Linked DNA regions of Homo sapiens: region 1 is linked to region 2. Evidence: promoter capture Hi-C in human tissues and cell types (Jung and others, 2019). All regions are on one chromosome and are shown on one strand. The core of a region is centred on a gene start or on the middle of the fragment in contact, and the rest is flanking DNA. Distances in the headings are between cores, read along the strand shown. Region 1 holds the start of DMRT2 (doublesex and mab-3 related transcription factor 2). Region 2 holds the start of DMRT1 (doublesex and mab-3 related transcription factor 1).

Region 1 (2,500 bases), core at 1-2,500, 210 kb before region 2:
GGGGCTTCGCTGGGGCCTGAGCCTGGCGGCCCTCACTCTGGGGAAACACAAAGAAATCCAAAGACCCACCGGCCGCCGTCAGGGACCATCCCTGAGCCTCCGGCCCAAAGCTCCTGGTCTGCCCGCCTCCGGCCGCTTGAGTCATCCTGTTCTCATTACATGTCCCTCACTTCCAGGCCACACGTGCCTTTCCTGTATCTCCAGGGCCCCCAGGGATCCACAACCCAACAAAGGTTTTATTTTATTAATTCTAAGTGCTCTGTGAGTACCTGACCTTTAACCGTGGCCCTCTCTGGCTTTACACGGGCTTTCCGGACAAGTCCCTGGGTAACTCACTTATCACACACACACAAAATATTGTGTCCAAATAGGCAGCCCCAGGCCACTTGTCGGATTTCCCCATACTCAACTAGTATGGCCATGATGCATATAAAACTATCCGTGGAAGAACAGTTTTCCTTTGATTACAAGTGGCCCTTCAGACTCACTGAAGTACCACTCTATGCTTCCCAAATGCCTCTCATCAGCCTACACCACCACAAGGACCCCTCCTTGGGCTTGAAGAGGTCCTCTCACCCCCCTCCCCAAAATACTCAACTGAAAACCAAAATTTTGTTGTCATTAGCGTCCCATAAGGGCAAAGAGCACAATACAGACGCCCGTCCAGCCTTAATAGTACCTGAGGTGCACAGGGCTGAGCCGCGTGGGCTCTCTGTACTTAGGCCTTGGTTTATATATTTAAGGTAAGGCATCCAAGTCACACAGAAAAGGTGAAAGATGATTCACGCCCTTTGCCCTCCCTGACACCCCGAGCGGCATCACAGCACTCACCAAAACTTTGAGGCCCGGGCTGGTAGCCCAGTTAAAAGATATCCAGCTTTAGGATCTGGCGCTAGGGCTGCTGGCTGTGCATGCAAACAGAAATCGGGGTCGCTACCCTCAAACACGAGATCGGGAGCTGATAGCTGGAGGCCCGGAACGAACCCACTGGATGGTGGAGGGGGAGGGAGAAGGTAGGTGGAGGGAAGGAGGGAGGAAGCCAGTCAAGTCCTCAGCGACCTAGCCCAGCACATCCCGAACTCTGCAAAGTTCTGCTCGGTCTTCTGCAGCCTCGGGCGCCTCACCTTGCTGAGGCCGCTTTCGGCTTCCTCTGACCCAGGCTGGGCGGGAAAGGTCGGGCCGCCCCCGCCTGGCTCAGATCGCTGGCTCACCCGGCGGGCGCGCGCAGTTGCATTCAGCGCAGCGCCACTGGCTTCAGTCTGCAGACTGCGCTCCCCTTCCTAGTACTGTCCGCTCAGGCCCCGGAGCTTTACGTCCTCTGATTGGCCGGTTGTCAGGCGGTGTGAATACTGATTGGCCGAGGCACGCTGGCAGGGAGCCCTCCGCCTCCCGCGGTCTACACTCTTCTCTCTGAAGCGCTCCGCCAGAGTCCGCCTACCGGGCCTTCGGTGCAGCCGGCTCGCCTGTCCAGAATCTAAACCCGAGGTATGACGGTGCCTGCAAGAGAGAAGTCACCATTTATCTCGCGGACTGGGAAACAAGCAGAGATACATTCTTAGGAATGCGTTGTCCACAAGAGAAGGTAATAAACGACGAGGAAGAGATCAGAAAGACCAGTATTGGCCTCTATCAGCATCACAAGCATTTCTGCGACTCAATCAATCATTAATCCAAACTGGGCGTAAAAATGATGCCTCTCTTTCGGGGCGTACAGCGACATCCTTCTTTCTCCTGCAAGAGTACATCAATGGTTACCTGGCACCGAAACTCCTAGTTAGCATACAAATAGCCTGTTGATATTTCTGTGTCTAGTGCCACCTATTCTCGAAGTGCCAAATAGCTCCTCATTAACCTTCACCGAGCCCGTGTGGCAGGTGGCCAAGTCGACTACAAGTCACTTACATTTTTCTGTTATATCAGTTGCTATTACAGTTAATGTAGGGAAGATCAGAAATGCATGCTATTAAGAGAATTAGGTAAATCCATTCACACTAAGCATGCATTTAAACAAAGTTATTTTTAAAAAGATGACTACTTTTTAGTGTGCGTAGTTGTATTTATAGACTTTCTAACGACTCCCTCAAAAAATCCTTTACAAAATGTTTAACGATAAAAAATTTTCAACATATTAAAAGAAGGAATTAGTCTTCTAATTCAACGCTGCATTCTATTTCTTGAACTCAATTAAAAATAATATGGGCGCTTTTCTAACTGCATCTGTAAATAATCAAGACCTCTCGAGTAGGATCTGTTTAGGAGACTACAAAATTGGGTATCATTGCACTGAGTACATAGTAGGCCCGCAACAAATATTTGTTGAAGGGTGGGAATTCCTGACGTAATCCCAACGTTACTTTTGTCCGAGTTTGTCAGAATGTTAAAAGTTAACCTGGATCAGAGAAGTGGGAACAAAGGCAGCTTAGGAACTACCGCGACCAGCCAGAAGCACTATTCTCAAACCTTCAGTGATGTTGTAAAGTTCCTCCCCGGTGACCAGGCA
Region 2 (5,591 bases), core at 1-2,500:
GCGGGAGCGAAGATCCTGAAGACTCCTCTAGCGCAATAAACCCTCCCAATTCTGTTGGAACGCGGGCTCTGGGATCGCGGGGAAGCCCAGAGGGGCGAACCCCGGAATTCCCTGCCCTGAGAGCGGGATCAGGGATCTCAGGGACCCGGGAGCAGAGGGAACCCCCGCAACTCCGCCGAAACACAGGGTGAGAGATCGTGGGGAACCCCGAGCCGAGCGAAGCCCGCAACTCTGCCCGGCGGGCGGGATCAGACGCGTCTCCGGCGCTCCCAGACCGGCGATGTAGCGTGGCCGGGAGCCCAGGACCCCAAGCGCCGCCGCTGTCGGCAAGTACCGCCGCATCTCTCCACAACCCAGGACCCGCATGGCAACGGCCATGCTGGGGGGACTTCATTCAAGAAACTCGGGCCCCGCCGGGAGCGGTGGCCCACGCCTGTAATCCCAGCACTTTGGGAGGCCGAGGCGGGTGGATCACCTGAGGTCAGGAGCTCGAGACCGGCCTGACCAATATGGTGAAACCCCCGTCTCTACTAAAAATACAAAAATTAGCCGGGCATGGTGGTGTGCGCCTGTAGTCCCAGCTACTTGGGAGGCTGAGGCAGGAGAATTGCTTGAACCCGGGAAGCGGAGGTTGCAGTGAGCCAAGATCGCGCCACTACACTGCAGCCTGGGCAACCGAGCGAGACTCCATCTAAAAAAAAAAAAAAAAAAAAAAACTAAGGCTGAACCCGGGCTCCCGCACGCCCGCACCCACCTGCGCGGCCATCACGCGCTGCCTCTCGGCGATCAGGTTGCACTTCTTGCACTGGCAGTCGCGCCACATGCAGAAGCGCTTGTGGCCCTTGAGCGGCGAGGCGTAGCCGTGGTTCCTGCAGCGTGCGCACTTGGGCAGCCGCGGGGACTTCTTGCTCCCGGCACCCAGGTCCGACGCCCCGGAGCCGGAGCCGCCTCCTCTGCTGCTGCCCCCGGCGCTCGAGCCGCTGGCCGCCCCCACTAGCGCCCCAGACGCTTTGCCAAAGCCCCCGGCTCTGCCCTGCGGCGGTACCCCGGGGGCGTGAGGGGCTTCCGACGGTGTAGAGGGCTTGCTGAATGCCTCGTCGTTGGGCATGGTGCCCCTAGGAGAAGTGCGAGCACTCTGGCCCCCTCTCTCGCCTGGAGACTGCTGCGAGGGATGAACCCGACGGACAGCGACGCTCCGGAGGAGGAGGCGCAGGAGACGTGTGCGCTGCAGCCGGAGGCGCAGCTGGAGTGGCGAGGTCTGGGCACGCCACGCCCGGAGTGGTGGGGGGTTGTGCCTTTTCTTTTGGCGCGCGCGCGACTCAGAACTTTCGGATACTTTTCAGAACATTCCCGGGACTGCCTGGGAGGGAGCGTGGCCACGCCCACCGCCCCCCGACTCCAGCCACCGCTCTCCAGCTGCTTGCAAACTTGCACCGGCTGCAAGCATCCAGGGCTTTGCTGCAGGGTCCCTGCAAGCGCACCGAGAGATACAGAGCGGCCTGGGAATCGCGTGGCACCCCTCGCCCCGCTCTCGGAGGCGCCAAGACCCGGTTGCCAAAGCACGGTGCACCGAGGAAGCTGGGCTCCCCAGGTCAAGACCAGAGCCGTGCTTGCATGCTTAGAGGAGGTGCAAACCACCCTATGGGGTCTTCTAGCTCCCTTTCCCCCAGAGAGACGCACCAGATTTGATAGAGCCGACCTTGGCAGCAGCCAAGTCAGAAAAAAATTTTTTTTCTCGCTTAAGAGAATTAAATATGAGGTGGAAGGCCTGAGAAATTTATAGGGTAAATCAGAGTTGCCCTATATACGGCAAAGAAGATCCTCAGTGTTGGGGCACAAGCACTTCAAAAATCTCAAAGGTTGGAACTTTCTGTTCTCCGTTTATCCCTTCCTGCACCTGTCTTCATTTGCTCACAACACTTCTACCTCCTTCGCTCCAAATAACTTTACGATCTACTGTTGCAGCCCGTGTTCCCGTTCACTTCAGGTGCATATAGCTTCTTGTCTGTGAGGCTGTTTAAACTTAGACTCTGCAGGCACGGGAAACTCAAACTTAAAAAGAAACATATGTATTAAAAAAAACTGAGGTTGTGGGGGGTGGTTACACAGATGTAGAAATGTATCAAAACTCATTCTACACTTCATATCTTGCATTTTACAGTATGTCATTATACCTCTACACACACACACACACACACACACACACACACACACACACACACCCCTGGCTCGATCATCTTACAGCCTGTCCCAGGGTTCTCATCCTGAACTCCCGCCCCAGCCATGCCTGTGTCCTCTCTGCACCTGCACAACAAATGTATCCCTAAGGCCTGCTGAGCAGTTCTTCCTACACACCCACGTGCCCCCCTAAGGCCAGCCCTTCACCTCAAGTCTGAATCTCTGCGGTAGCTCCCAGCTGCTATCTCCATGTCTTAGTCTTCCGGTATATTCTATACACACAGCAGGGGGCCCCAGCAGTACTTTGCTATTGTTTTCCATGTTAACAAGTTAAAGACCCCGGAGTGGCTCTTAATGCACTTTGAATGCTCCTTATTTTCCACCAGCACTGGTACTCACCTTCAGGATCCTGGGCCGCCTCCAGACCTAGGGGATTATTTCTCCAAAGAGGCATGGTCACCCTGTTCAACTTCTCATCAAAATGGTTGTACTGTGGCCACCTCTTTCAGCAGTTTGGTGTTTTCAGCACTGAGTTCTGAAATCCTCGAATCTGCCTTTGGAGCTCTAATTCTGAGGCCTCTCTCACAGGCCCTTTCCCTCAGTCTGAAATTTCTCCATTAGTATTCTCTGTCTGAAAATTACTTCCAAAAGAAGCTTCTAGCTTTACACAGCACCTCATACCCTACCTGTGAAACCAGTGAAGCTCTACTCCTGACAGGAGCTAGGATGCAACAATCTATTCCATCCTGGAAACTTATAAATGATAACCACTTAAATCTTCCATTAAAACAATCTTCCATTAAAACACGCATGTCAATTGCTGTTATCCAATATTTATGTTCTTTTTCCAGATTTATATTTTATTTATTTAATTTTTAGAGATAGAGTCTTGCTCTGTTGCCTGGGCTAGAGTGCAGTGGCACAGTCATAGCTCACTGTAGCCTCCAGTTTCTGGGCTAAAGGGATCCTCCTGCCTCAGCCTTCCAAGTAGCTGGGACTAGAAGCATGTGCTACCACGCCAAATTTTTTTTTTTTTTTGAAATGGAGTCTCGCACTGTCACCCAGGCTGGAGTGCAGTGGCGCGATCTCAGCTCACTGCAAGCTCCGCCTACCGGGTTCACGCCATTCTCCTGCCTCAGCCTCCCAAGTAGCTGAGACTACAGGCGCCTGCCACCATGCCCGGCTAATTGTTTGTACTTTTAGTAGAGACCGGGTTTCAACATGTTAGCCGGGATGGTCTCGATCTCCTGACCTCGTGATCCACCCGCCTCGGCCTCCCAAAGTCCTGGGACTACAGGCGTGAGCCACCAAGCCTGGCCCCAATTTTTAAAAATTTTGTGGAGACAGGGGCTTACTATGTTACTCAGGCTGGTCTCAAACTCCTGGCCTCAAGTGATTCTCCTCCTTCCACCTCCCACAGCACTGAGATTTATAGGTGTGAGCCACCGTGCCTGACCCATATTTGTATTTTAATATATAAACTGGAGCTGAATCATTCCCAAGGTCCTGTCCAGTTCTAGAGAGTGAAGTAGATGCAGGAGGAAACAGCTGTCAAATCCCAAATTACAGGGGAATATAGGTTCTTTATAAGCATCCTATTACTGGAATCTGTGAAGGAGGAATTTAAGCCCACAGAAAATTCGGGGCTAGGAATCTCTGTGACCAAGGTATTATAACATAAAATGTTGTGATGAAGTTAATAGCCTAGTAAATTTATTCACAAACCACAGAAGAGGTACCAGACAGGAGACCACCAAAAATAGAGACGGGCCCTGCACAGTGGCTCACGCCTATAATCTCAGCACTTTGGGAGGCCGAGGCGGGCAGACCACCTGAGGTCAGGAGTTCGAGACCAGCCTGGTCAACAGGGTGAAACCCCTTCTCTACTAAAAATGCAAAATTAGCCAGGCATGGTGGCACACACCTGTAATCCCAGCTACTCGGGAGGCTGAGGCAGGATAATCACTTGAACCCGGGAGGCGGAGGTTGCAGTGAGTCAACATCGTGCCATTGCACTCCAGCCTGGGCAAAAAAAAAGCAAAACTCCACCTCCAAAAAAAAAAAAAAAGTGGCCAGGCGCGGTGGCTCACACCTGTAATCCCAGCACTTTGGGAGGTGGAGGCAGGTGCATCATGAGGTCAGGGGTTCAAGACCAGCCTGACCAACATGGTGAAACCCTGTCTCTACTAAAAATACAAAAATTAGCCGGGCTTGGTGGCGCGTGCCTGTAATCTCAGCTACTCGGGAGGCTGAAGTAGGAGAATCTCTTAAAACCTGGGAGGCAGAGCTTGCAGTGAGCTGAGATTGCGCCATTGCACTCTAATCTGGGCAAGAGAGGGAGACTCCTTCTCAAGAAAAAAAAAAAGTCTGGGCGCAGTGGCTCATGCCTGTAATCCCAGCACTTTGGGAGGCCGAGGCAGGCAGATCACTTGAGGTCAGGAGTTTGAGACCAGCCTGGCCAACATGATGAAACCCTGTCTCTACTAAAATACAAAAATTAGCTGGGCAGGGTGGTGGGTGCCTGTAATTCCAGCTACTTGGGAGGCTGAGGCTAGAGAATCGTTTGAACCCTGGAGGCAGAGGTTGCAGTGAACCGAGATGGTACCACTGCACTCTAGCCTGGGTGACACAGTGAGACTCTGCCTCAAGAAAAAAAAAATAGAGACAGGAAGGCCCCAAGAATGAACAAATTTGTACTGGATATTTCAAGTAGCCTGGCTTTGTTGTCTCCTTTCTCTCCTCTCCTTTTTCCAGACATGGAAGCCATAAAGATGGTGATGCAGATCTGTATTTACTGAAATAGAAATATGTCCAAGACATATTGGTAAGTGGGGGGAGGGGCAGTTCTAAAACATGTCAGGGTTGGGCAAAGACTTCTTAGGCATAACACCAAAAGCAAAAGTGGGCCGGGCGCAGTGGCTCATGCCTATAATCCTAGCACTCTGGGAGACTGAGACGGGTAGATCGCCTGAGCTCAGGAGATCGAGACCAGCCTGGGCAACACGGTGAAACCCCATCTCTACTAAAATACAAAAAATTAGCCAGGCGTGGCAGCCTGCGCCTGTAATCCCAGCTACTGAGAAGGCTGAGGCAGGAAAATTGCTTGAACTGGGGAAGCAGAGGTTGCAGTGAGGCAAGATCACACCACTGCCCTCTAGCCTGGGCCACAGAGCAAGACTCCATCTCAAAAAAAAAAAAAAGCAAAAGTGATGAAAGGAAAAAAACTGGCAAACTGGACTTCACCAAAATTCAAAGCTTTTGTGTCTTCAAAAGATACCATTAAGAAAATGAAAATACAGCCTGACCCGGTGGCTTATGCCCATAATCCCAGCACTTTGGGAGGCTGAGGTGGGCAGATCGCCTGACATCAGGAGTTCAAGACCAGCCTGGCCAACTTGGCGAAACTCTGTCTC

The links. The method cuts DNA at HindIII sites, captures the fragments that hold promoters and counts their contacts. A contact is called where the count stands out against the background at its distance.
Region 1: the fragment with the promoter of DMRT2 here is called in contact with the fragment with the promoter of DMRT1 in region 2 in 1 of the 25 tissues and cell types used here (neural progenitor cells).

Annotation. Positions count from the first base shown.
Region 1 is chr9:1,049,107-1,051,606 of GRCh38, reverse strand. It overlaps DMRT2 (doublesex and mab-3 related transcription factor 2), which reads right to left and starts at 1,250. Exons shown (of 4, transcript NM_181872.6): 1 at 832-1,250; 2 at 1-37. RefSeq lists an enhancer at 609-1,478. The HindIII fragment of the contact is 14,990 bases long and covers 1-2,500 here.
Region 2 is chr9:837,356-842,946 of GRCh38, reverse strand. DMRT1 (doublesex and mab-3 related transcription factor 1) reads right to left here and starts at 1,250. Exons shown (of 5, transcript NM_021951.3): 1 at 755-1,250. The coding sequence starts at 1,108. The HindIII fragment of the contact is 5,420 bases long and covers 1-4,133 here.